Regions from separate parts of the Homo sapiens genome. Here region 1 is linked to region 2. The links are contacts of gene promoters, found by promoter capture Hi-C in human tissues and cell types (Jung and others, 2019). All regions are on one chromosome and are shown on one strand. The core of a region is centred on a gene start or on the middle of the fragment in contact, and the rest is flanking DNA. Distances in the headings are between cores, read along the strand shown. Region 1 overlaps CFAP61 (cilia and flagella associated protein 61). Region 2 holds the start of INSM1 (INSM transcriptional repressor 1).

Evidence for each region. The method cuts DNA at HindIII sites, captures the fragments that hold promoters and counts their contacts. A contact is called where the count stands out against the background at its distance.
Region 1: a fragment that was not itself captured here is called in contact with the fragment with the promoter of INSM1 in region 2 in 4 of the 25 tissues and cell types used here (H1 embryonic stem cells, heart right ventricle, spleen and 1 more).

Annotation. Positions count from the first base shown.
Region 1 is chr20:20,288,760-20,294,203 of GRCh38, reverse strand. It overlaps CFAP61 (cilia and flagella associated protein 61), which reads right to left. Exons shown (of 27, transcript NM_015585.4): 23 at 5,268-5,444; 24 at 3,813-3,904. Among named protein-coding and RNA genes, the nearest start is that of CFAP61-AS1, 24 kb to the right of the region's middle. The HindIII fragment of the contact is 3,307 bases long and covers 2,154-5,444 here.
Region 2 is chr20:20,363,529-20,369,573 of GRCh38, reverse strand. It overlaps INSM1 (INSM transcriptional repressor 1), which reads right to left and starts at 1,470. Exons shown (of 1, transcript NM_002196.3): 1 at 1-1,470. The coding sequence starts at 1,306. RefSeq lists an enhancer at 1,607-2,377. The HindIII fragment of the contact is 4,823 bases long and covers 1-3,892 here.

The DNA.
Region 1 (5,444 bases), core at 2,558-5,057, 78 kb after region 2:
CCTCCCAGCCCTGCCCACATGGTGCAGGGTTCTGGGGTCAGGACGATTATTTTGCAACCTTCCGGTTTGGTAGGGTATATCTGGTGTCTTCCCCTATTTTAAGTATACGAGCAAATTGTTTAAAAATTTGGATATTAAATTTAAGATTTTGATGGAGTCACTGATTCTGATGTGGTTTTTCTTCTTCTTTTTTTCCCTGAATATAATTATCCTTTTGAGGTCCTTTATGATTTTGACAAAGGTTGGAAAATGGTTCTGGAATTCATGCCAAATGGAAGACACAGGATTCATCAGACTTGGTGTTCAAGAAATCAAGTTCCCAGCTCTCATGATGAACACACAATTTTAAATTTGATGGTATCCAAGGCAGAATTTGTTGTGACAAATTTCTTTCTTCCATGGTATATACGCCAACAAAGCATGTGGACTGGAATCTGTAAATTAGTTTATTATGTAGACGACTTGGGGTCCCCTTTCTTCCTTTTGTCAGGTTACCTCTCAAAGAGCTCATGAATTACTACAGTATCTTCCGACTTAAATATTCCAATTAGTGAGCACTATAAAAGTCTGATAAGATTTGTCTGTGCTATATCTAGTGTATGAATAGTAATTCAATTTCTCTGGCGAAATATTGTTCAATGGGCTCCATTCTTGATCAATTGGCTATATTTAGGTGACTGCCTGACCATTTTGGCAACGATTTCACTTAATCAAATTAATTCCAACCCCAAAAGATTGCCATGGAGCCATCCTACATTTTTCTTTCTTGGATAATAAAATGGAAAAAAAATCTGTTTAGATCTTCTGTACTAATTAAAAAGGAGGCCCACCTGGCAAAATGGTTAATTAAAGTCAGGGGTCCTGTTCACATACTGTCATAGCACCAGCCAAAGAATCTATTTAAGTTGCACTCTTATTAAAACTCTCATTATCTAAAAACCCCTTTTGGCTCCTCCTCTGACTTTATTTAGAGAGAGTCGGTGGCTCATAAATAAACGATGCCGCATGTAGGAAATCATGCACTGTCCTTGAAGAATCTGGTTCTGGCTGAAACCAAGTCCAATATGTTCTAGCTCTTGTGCATATTAGACTCGAGTTATTTATCTGTGATGATCAAAGTGCTTAGCCTGTGAATACTCTGGGCTTTATCCTATTTACCTCATGCCCCACCTCACTGGTGGCAGATTTACTTTCTAAAGATGGCCACGACAGTGTCCCTATCCCACACACCGTCCCGCAATATGACCCTGACACTCTCTGCCTTGAGAGATGGATTCTCTATTCCCCACCCCTTGAATCTCGGTGGTTGCTGTGACTGCTCCAACAGAGAGAGTGGGAGAAGTGATGCTGTGGGACTTTTGAGGGTGGGTCATAAAAGGCAACGCAGCTTCCAGCTTGCTAGTAACAACACTTGCACTTGGAGCCCAGAGCCACTGCGTGAGCAGTCTGGCTACTCTGAGGCCACCATACTGTGAGGAAGCCCAGGCACTTGAGGACAGCCCAGGTGGGGAGGCTGTGGTGAACACTTCCGGTCCTTGAGTCATCCCAGCCCAGCTGAGTAACAAGCTTTCGGATTTAGTAAACAAGCCTTCAGATGATCTGGACCATTGATCTAACCCTCTAGTCTTCCCATCTAAGGCTGTGAATAGTGTGGAGCAGAGACAATCTGTGCCCACTGTGCCCTGTCCAAATTCCTGACTCACAGGATCTGTAAGCAGGATCAAATGGCTGTTTTATGCCACTAGGTGTTTTTTATACAGCAATAGAAACTGGAACACTATGATGATCTTATGGTTTCCTTTATTATAAGAAAATGTTGCATCAGATCATGTGTACAGGGCAACTAAAAGAATCTGGGAAAGGGCTAAGGGAAATAAGTTTTAAACATACAGCATCTACCCTTTTCCTGGAAGAACTGGGTTTCATTATTTATCTGGAATAATGATTAAAACAGCCATCTTCACCACTTACTGGCTACCTGTTTTGTTCCTGACAATGTTACTTTATGTATGCTCCCCAGCAATCCCAGAAATGCAGATGCTGAAGAACTTGTTCAAGGTCCATGGGAAGGAAATGGAATAGGATTGAGATTTCCTGAAGGGTGAAGAACCCATAGCCTGTGCCATTTGAGTAGGCCCCCATTTAAGGATTTTTCCAAGAGCTTCTGCTTACATCTCATTGGCCAGAACCTGCCACATGGCTGACCCTGTCCTTGAGGAAATCTGGGAAATGTGTTTATTTTAGGTTGGTCATATTGTTTACCCTCAAAAATATTCAAGAGAAGAAAATGGGAATGGAAGTTAAGTAGACAGCTTCCAATCTGCCTCATTGATTAAAAATCAAACGTGACATATCCAAAAGGAAGCCCCCAGATGACAACACACACCGGGCTGGGACTATGGGTCAGAGAATCTTATTAGAGGAGCTCTTCAACTGACCAACCACCTGTGTCCTTTAAACAGCAGAATTCCCAACTGCACAGCTTCTGCTTTTCCTGGAGGGGAGGAAAACAGTGGGGTCTCCATGGCCATTCCAGATGCTAAGCAATCTACTTGCTCCATTGACATGAAAGTGGATATTTCAGTTATCTATCGATGCATCACAGGTTGCCTCAAAATGTAGAGGCTTAATGTCCTTCAGTAGGTGAATGGATAAATAAACCGATACAACCAGACAATAGAGGATCATTCAGTGCCAAAAAGAAATGAGCTATCAAGCCATGAAGAGATATAGAGGAAGCTTAAATGGATATTACTAAGTGAAAGAAGCCAACCTGAAAAGACGATAGGCTGTATGACTGCAACTATATCACATTCTGGAAAAGGCAAAGTGACTGAGACAGTATGAAGATCAGTAGTTGCTAGGCCTTAGGACAGAGGGAGGGACAAACAGGCAGTGCACAGAGGGTTCTTAGGGCAGTGAAGCTGCTCTGTATAATCCTGTAATGGTGGATATGTGTCATTATACATTTGTCCAAACCCACAGAATGTACACAACCAAGAATGAACGCTAATGTCAACTATGGGCTTTAGTTGATAATAATGTGTCAGTGTAGGTTTATTAATTGTAAGAAATATATCACTGGTGGGGGATGTTGATAGTGGGGGAGGCTATATGTCTTTTGAAGGGTTGGGGTTACATGGGAAATCTTTGTACCTCTGCTCAATTTTGTTATGAAACCAAAACAGCTCTAAAAAATAAAGTCTATTGAAAAAAGTAATGGCATAAAACAATAATAAATTTTTATTATCTCACGGTCTCTGGGAGTCAGAAGCTGAAAATGGCTTAGCTAGGGAGTTCTGGCTCAAGGCCTTTCATAAGTTTTCAGTCAAGATGTTGGCTGGGGCTGCAGTCACCTGAAGGCATGAAGGAGGCTGCAGGATCCACTTCAAGGTGGCACACTCGTCTGCCTGGCAAACTGATCATGACTGGTGCAGGAGTCCTCAATTCCTTGCCACATGGACCTCTCTAAAGGCGTCCCTACAGCATGGCAGCAAGTCATCTAGAAGTGTGCAAGCTGGAAGCTGTCGTATCTTTCTTGACCTGACCTGACCTTGGAAGTCACACAGTCATTTCCCCAATATCCTGTTGGCTACACAGGTCAGCCCTACTCAGTGTGGGAGGAGCCACACAAGGGCATGAAGACCAAGGTGCGAGAGTCACTAAGGGCCATCTTGGGGGACGATTACTCCAGTGGGCTTCTGATGTGTGAACCAACACATTACAGTAAAGACTCCAAGTAAAGAATTTCATCCTCTTATAAACAAAGTTTTGTATTTGAAAGTAAAATGAAATTCAGAAATAATACTTACATAATTAGGCTGTGCCATTTGTACCTCCAAGGGAGTTGGAATGGCAGGCTTGGCAATATGCAGATAATGGTAAGACCCAGGAAGAATGCCCCCTAGAAGAGATGGCAAGTTTTCCATTTAAAATTAATTGTTAATGAGGTGAGTAACAGAGCTCATATTTTCATCACAGGACAAACAGATGCCTGCAGTGGCGTATGCTCCTCAAACTTTCACACTAAAGTACCACTAACAACAAGGAACTCCCTGGGGTGGTTGACGTTTATTTAACCAAATTGATGTGAATGTGATATGATATCCCATAATGTAGCCGCCATTGCTCCAGGATGTGCCAAGCCGATCTTGTGTATCCTGTGATTATCCGGAGCTCCCCGCCCTTTAACCTGTATCTGCCAAAACCAGATCAAGACCTTTAGAAGCCTTAAATGTTGCAAACAGCATTCCTATTCCTCATCACTTCTCCAAAATGTAGCCAAAATATTAAAAAATTGAATTTAATTAGGACTATCAACAAAGTTCTTTGTTCAATGTTTTAGAAACTGTCATTATCGAATTCTTAATATTTTGGTTTGTTCCTGAGGTCTGGGCCTGTGCCAGCTCTGGCTTCTGACAGCCCTCCCTTCTCTTGCCTGCCTACGGCCACCACCTTTCCTCAGGTCTCACCCAGAGTGAGAAGCAGAGCAAGACCTTGTGGGGCTGCCTAGTTAGGAAGAGGAAGACAAGGATGGAATGTGGGGCTTTCGTCTCTGTAATCTGACATTCCATTGACTGGACTGGGCTTCATGGACACCCTGGGGGTCTATGTACAGCTTTGTGGGTTCATCTATAAACCTCCAGGAAGGGAACACGTAATTTTGTAAATATGTGCATTTTTCTGGTAAAAGGTCCACAACATTCAGAAACACCATTTTCAAAGGTATTTCTCATACCCTAAACGTGAAGGAACCCTGCATTACTCATGAAATCATCTCCTCCTTAGGGGTCAGAAGGGTTTATGGGATAAAAGTGCACTGCTTTACAGCTGCAAATGGTTAAGCTTATCCATCCCCAGAGCAGGCTGAGGCCTGGCTGCCTGGAAGGGTCTCCTTATCTCTGAACTTACAGAGAGAATGGAAGTTTTGGGTAAGATGTCAGGGCAAACCATCATTTTCCAGCTGTGAGACATCCAGACAAGTTAATAATCATTCCCTTGTCTGTTTTCTTATCTGTAAAGTGGGAACCCCATTTAGGATGTGGTCCATAGTAAATGCTCAAATGCAAAGAACCGTAATAACAATAATTCCAGGTTTGTAATAAATGCTTCAGAAATTATAGACCCTTTCTCTGTCTCTGTGGCAACCCATTGAGGTACGGAGGAGCCTTTTCCCCAAGCCTAAGAGAAACCTGGAGGACTGGCCTGACTGCTGAGCCATACCTAATCTGTGGCTTCATCAAGGAGAAGGAAGCCTACTCGTATACCTTGAATCTTGGCTCCCTTGTACATGGGGATGAGCCGGTCAAGATTAGCTGGTGGCTCGGTCACAGGCTCAAGGGTTGGATCAAAGAGATGTAGCATAGCTGCTGCCAGCTGAAAGCCAATTTCTTTGGAACTGAAGTTGCTGTGAGTCCACTCATTTGAGTAGTATCTATTGGAGA
Region 2 (6,045 bases), core at 221-2,720:
CACTCAGGCCCAGCACGCCGGCCCCCTCGCCGTCGCCGGCCGCCTCCTGGGGCGCCTTCTCGTCGGGCCCGGGGTACAAGGCCAGTAGGTCCTCGGCCGGGGGCGCTAGCGGCGCGCCCTTGGCCTGCAGCGCCTGGTGGTGCGCCAGCAGGTGCTTGCGTAGGTAGGCCTGGCGGCGGAACTTCTTGGCGCAGTGATGGCACTCGTAGAGCCCGTCCTCGGAGCCCGACTCGGACACGCCGCCGGGGCTCGGCGTGTCCCGGTCGCTGCCGCCGCCGGGTGCCTCCCGCGCCTCAGCCCTGGCTGCTGCTTCTGGCTCCGGCGCGCGGGCGGCGGCGGGCGCGGGCCGCGGTTTGTGCCAGCGGCGGTGCGAGGCCAGGTTGGCCGGGCAGCTGAAGACCTTGGCGCACTCGGGACAGCGGTACTCCACACGCACGATGCGCGAGCATTTGTGCTGCGCCAGCGCGAACGGGTCGGCGTACTCCTCCTTGCACAGCTGGCAGATGAACTCGCCCAGCGGCCGCGCCGCGCCCCCCGCGCGGCCCCGCGGCGCCTCCACCGGGCCCTCCTTGATCTTGAGCCCCAGCACGGGCGACGTGGTCACCTCGTCCTCGAAGTGCAGCTTGCGGATGGCCTTGGGCTTCTTGGCGCCCGGGGCCTTGACTGCCTTGGCGGGCGGCTCCGCGGCGGTAGGGGGCGGGGGCCGCTTTCCCGGGGGCCGCAGGGCGGCGGCAGGGGGCAGTGGGGGGCCGGGGCCCGGGCCGCGGGCCGCCTCGGCGCCAGCCGAGAACGCCGTGCCCATCTTGAGCTCGGCGGGCGCGAAGAGCAGCGGGTCGCCGCCGCAGGTGCCGCCTCCGCCAGCTCCGCTCGCGCCGCCGCCGCCGCCCCCTCCGAGCAGCGCGGCGGGCGTGGGGAAGGACTCGGCCGAGACCGGCGAGCCCAGGTTGAAGCTGCGTTCGAAGTACTTGTGCTTCTCGTGCTCGCGGCTCACGGGCCGCGTGGGACTGTAGAGCGGCGCGGGGTGCGCAGCCTCGGGGTTGCCGAAGTGCGCGGCCCGCGGGCCCTGCGGGGGTGGCTGCGGCCCAGGCGCGCAGGCAAGCGCGGCGGCGAGCGCTGCATGGGCGCGCTCCGCGGGCGGCGGCGGCGGCAGCGGCCCGGGGACCGGGCTCGGCGCCGGGGGCTCGGCGCGGGCGCCCCCGCAGCTGGGCGAGAGCAGCAGTGCGCGGTCGCCGTCCTCGCCGCCGCGGACCCGGTAGGAAACGGGCGTGGACTTCTTGCTGCGCTTCACCAGGAAGCCGCGGGGCATGTTGGCGCGGCCCGAGGGCACGGCACTGGCTCGGTCCCCCCTCCGCGCTCGGCCCCGGCGGCCCTCAGTGCCCCCGGCCCATTGCCCGGGCGCGGCGGCTGCGGGACTCGCGTGGCGCCGGCGACGGCTCGGCCCAGCTCTGCGCCCTGCACGCGCGTCCCTGTCCCCGGGCCCGGCAGCCGCTCCCTTTTAACGGGGGGAGGGGGCCATTGTTCTCGCCTCCCGCTTCCCCTGGAGCCAATCAGCGCGTCCGCAGCTCCTCAGCCTGGCAGGGTGGGAGGGCGATGGGGCGGCCAAAAGGGGGCCGGGACTCGGGGGTCGCCCGGTAGGTGCGGCAGATGTACCTGAGGGCGCGGGGCCCCCGCGCGCGCCCCTGGTCGCCCCGCCCGGCGCCGCCGCCCCGCCCGGTCCAGGCACACGCCCGGCCCCGCCTCCCTTCACGGTCTGCTGCTTCTCTATGGGGAGGCGCACGTGCCTGGGCTTTGTGTCTCTCCTCCGGGGGGCGCGGAGCCGCCAAATGGGCCCGTCCATCAGCGCGACAATGCACGCCCCCCTCCCGCGCGGGGATTACCCGCGGGTCGCTAGCAAAATAGCAACAAAGGAGAAGAATGGCCCCAAATATGTCAGGAGGGTTCAATCCGCGAGCCGGAGCCGAGGGGGAAGTTGTGCGCGCTGATTGGGTGGGGGCGGGGGCGCGCCGGGGCGGTGCGGGGGAGATCGTTGCGGAGGCGCAGTGGCTCCGCGTGGTGTTTGGGAAATAAACAAGAATCCGAGAGAGCAGCAGGGTCCGGACGGCCTCCGCCCGGACCTTGGACGGATGGGCCGCTGGACCCAAGAGGCCAAGCAAAAGGGTTCCCCGGGGTTCCAAGTGTGGACAGGGGGCCCGGCCTTCTGGCAGTGGCCGAGGGCGATGTTTGTGCTCGCAGCCTCCGCGCGCCCACGGGGCTAGAGAAGGTTTCTTTCGAGTTTGAGAAGGAATTGGCACGGCCTTCTCAGTCTCCCGAAAGCGCGGGATTGGAGCGCGGGCGGGCTGGGCTGGGTTCCCAGAGGAACGTGAATTTCTGAACTTTTGGGTTCTTGGAGGCTTGGGAATGGCATCTTTGGCGGGGCCCGACCCAGGCCGCCCGGAGCTTCCGCGTGGTCCAAGGCTCGGTTAATCCGGGTCGAGTTGGCCGAAGCCCGAAACGCGCGGTCGGCCTCGTGCGCCCCAGTGAAGTTGGCTTTCTCCTCCCCGCGCGGCCTCATGCATTTTCATTCCGAGCGGGCATTTTGTTTGCCGGTTGACATCAGATGCTAAATCAAGGGCTCCAATCAAGGCGCTGCGAAATAAAGGGGCTGCCTGTCTGGGCGCAGCCCCCACGGAGCCGTGCCCCCTTCACCTTTGTGAAGGAAATTAACCTCCTGCTATTGAGCTCCGGTCGCGGCCAATCTGGACGCAAAAGAGACGCGTGCTGGACGGGGGGAGGGGGGGCAATCTGTACTCTGAGGCAGGCTGAGGCCTCCGAGAGGACAAGCCGCCTCCCCTGTGCCACCAGGAAGAGACAACAGCGAAGATTCCCCCCGCCCCCACCCCCACCCCCACCTCCGCTGCCGTTCCGTTTGGACCCAGACTGGGCCGCCTGCCTCCATCCTCTGTCCAGCCCAGCCCCGAGGAAACACAAAAGGCAGAATCTTCGGGGGACAGGGCAGAGAACCCCACGAGTGCGTAGTGGCCCTGATCGTCCAACACTGGGGAACAAATAGCCAAGCCACATAAAATGTCATATGCTGTGAGGAAAATGTCACTTTATTGAAAGAGAAGGAAACATTTTTCTGCAAAGCTTTGTATACCAGACAGATTTTGCTGAGTTTTACTTACGCTTAATTCCACTGAAGGTATTTAATTGTTTTGGATTTTCCCTCTGAAAATACCCTGGCGTAGAAATTAAACATGTAAAAATAGAGTCCACATGAGTCATAAGTTGTGATGGGGACAGTTGTTAGGCTTAATTAATTAAGGGGTTAATCAGGTTGGTTAATCAAGGGAAAGATATTTGATAATTTTATGTTTGTAATATTTTAACTCACACACTGAAAAGGGAAGAATGCATATAGTGAAATATATTTTGAAAAGTCTCACCCTAGTTTTAAAAATGCTGTGGTGAGTGCTAGTCTCCCCAAAAGTTAGAAATCTTAAAATGAGTTTATCTAAAATTTATAAACATATTTCTATCTAAAAGTAACTGATGTTATTTCCTTGCTCTTTTGAGCTCTGATTAATAGTGCTGATGAAATTAGAAGTGGGAAAAGGATTCCGAGACAGCTTTGGCCAATTTTATTTTCTAATCACGAATCCCATCTGGATTGTAGAATAGCATAGGGCGGGGGCTCGGCCTGCCCCATTCGGTCTTGCATATGTAACACTCCTTCCATTCAACAGATAACAGAGAGTTAGTCACCTTGTGAATCCTTTAAAAATAACAACACCCATAATTGTAAATAAGCCGTGGGGATGGGAAACCGGCACCTCTACCAACAAAAAAAACAAAACAACTCCTGCGTGAGTGAATTCAAACAGGGCTCTGAATTTAGCCAAGGGAATCTATTAAACGCTACTGAGATACTGAGATTCAATGAATCCGTTTCTTTTTCTTTATTTGTGGCTTCCAGTCTTGCTAGCGTAAATGAAATCTGCTTTCAGACGGGTACAGTCAAAATAAATGGAAACTTGAAAGGTACTAGTATTGGAAACTAATTTCACCACCCGGGGCTGGAAGGAGTTAGGCTGCGCACGCGCGCACGCACACACCAGCGACCTCCAAGCAGGTGTAGCCCAGCCCGGGCCGTGGATCGCAGCCGCCTTCTGCGTGATTTTCTCAGAACCTGTGCACCCGCATGCATGGGGACATCGGGTCGAGATATTTGTCTTCGCCTGGGAAGAGCAAAGCGCCATCACAGTGCGCCCCCGACGCCGGCCTTGGCGCACGCGATTCGGAGAATGGGCCGCGTGAAGTTAAGTTGGGGGAAACAGCGCGGATTTGCCCCCCTCCAGGGGGGCTTCGCGAAAGTCAGTGAACATAAGGATCCAAGGCAGAGCACCCAAGGGGCCTTCCCCGGCTTCAGGTGACTCCTCCCCTTCCTTCGGGGTCCTGGCCAGCGCTTTGGAAAAATCCCGGGCCTCTTCACTTTCCCTTGCGGACCCCGCGGTGGGTTCTTCCTCCGACGACTGCGGAGCCCGAGGCCCCAGGCCCTCCAATTTCTCCTATCCTGGTGTGCGGGGATGCCGTCGGGGAGCGCGCCGGGGTTCACTCTGACCCTCACCACGGCTGGAAATCAAAGTCAAGGCAACAGGGAGTTTGTAGAAAGCGCGAAGCTTGGAAATAAGAGCAGAAGCGGGGAACTTCTGCGGAGGAGTTGGCTCCTTGGGGTGTCTAGGAGAACAGGAGGCCCTGGCCTCACGGGAGGAGCCGGGCGGGCCCGCATTCTCACCCCGCAGAGGGTATCGCGTTTGGAGACGTCGGCGTTGGGGGTGAGGTGTCAGCGCCCCTCATCACCACTCTGCTGCAGACTTCTCTTCTGGCTTCACAGAAGCCCCCACTCCCGGCCCTCAGTCCCCCGAGCCACAACCGGCAGGAACCGTGCGTTACCGCTGCAGTGCCCGCCGCCCGGAGGGACCAGCGCCTCCCTGCGCCGGGTGCGCCCGACCCGAGCCGGTGAGAGGCTTTGTATTTGCAGGAATGAGGGGTTGTTGTGTCAGTCCCAGGGGCACGCGAGAGACACGCGCAGCCCGCCTGGCCGCCACCCCGCCCGGCCCGGCCCCAGGCACCTTCCGGGCCTCCCGCCCGCGGGCCGTTGCCTTTGTTCGGCGCATTAGCATAAAGCTGCCAGGGATCTCCCGTTTAGATAATTCCACACAAAAGGAGAGTGCATGAAAGAGAGCGAACAAGGGACGATCCGCGAGGCTGCGTCGTGCGTCCTCGCGGGGAGGGACCGCGCTCAAGTATTTCCCTCCCCTCGAGTTTCAAGTGCCCCCTGGCAATCTGCTGCGCGCCCATTATTCGGCCGGGGGCCGACGGCGTGGCTGGCCACCTCTTTTATCCCCCCGAGAGTACCGTCGGGGCCACTGCACGCTCCTTGAAGTGCCCTCAGGGCTGTTTGTTTTTGCCTCAGTGGGACCGTCGGGCCAGGGAGGGAGGAGAGCGGGTAGGAAGGCCCGGGCGGGCGGCGGGAAGGGCGACGTCGGCGAAAGCTGGCAGAGGCGAAGCCCAGAAGGTGAGAAAGTCATAACCAAAGAATTAGGTCAGGGAGAGTCAGGACGGCACGGGACCCATCGGGATGACATTGACCTTGGGGCGCAAGAGGTGTCCTCCACCTGTGAGGTGCTGGCGGCCGCTAGTCCGTGCGCCTCGGTCTCAAACGGAACTGACAAAACCCAGCGAAACTGACCAGAAAGGCTGCGGCGACCCCGATCCTTTCCCCTTCCTCCCACCCCACTCACACCTGCACCCCGCCTCGCCTGCCGCAGGAGGACGAAGAGGCAGCCAGACTCCTGGGGTCCACAAGGGCATACTTTCTACCCTGGCGAGCGTTCTTGCTATGGGGTTGGCGGGTGCTCCTCCCCCCCCACCGCCGTTCCTCTCTCCTCCGCCTTTCCCTCTTCTCCCGTCCCTGCTCTCCTCCCTCGCCCTCTGGTTCCCTCCTTGTGTCATCCGCCTCCTCTCCCTCCTCCTGTCCTTCTCTCTCCTTCTGTCTCTTCCTTT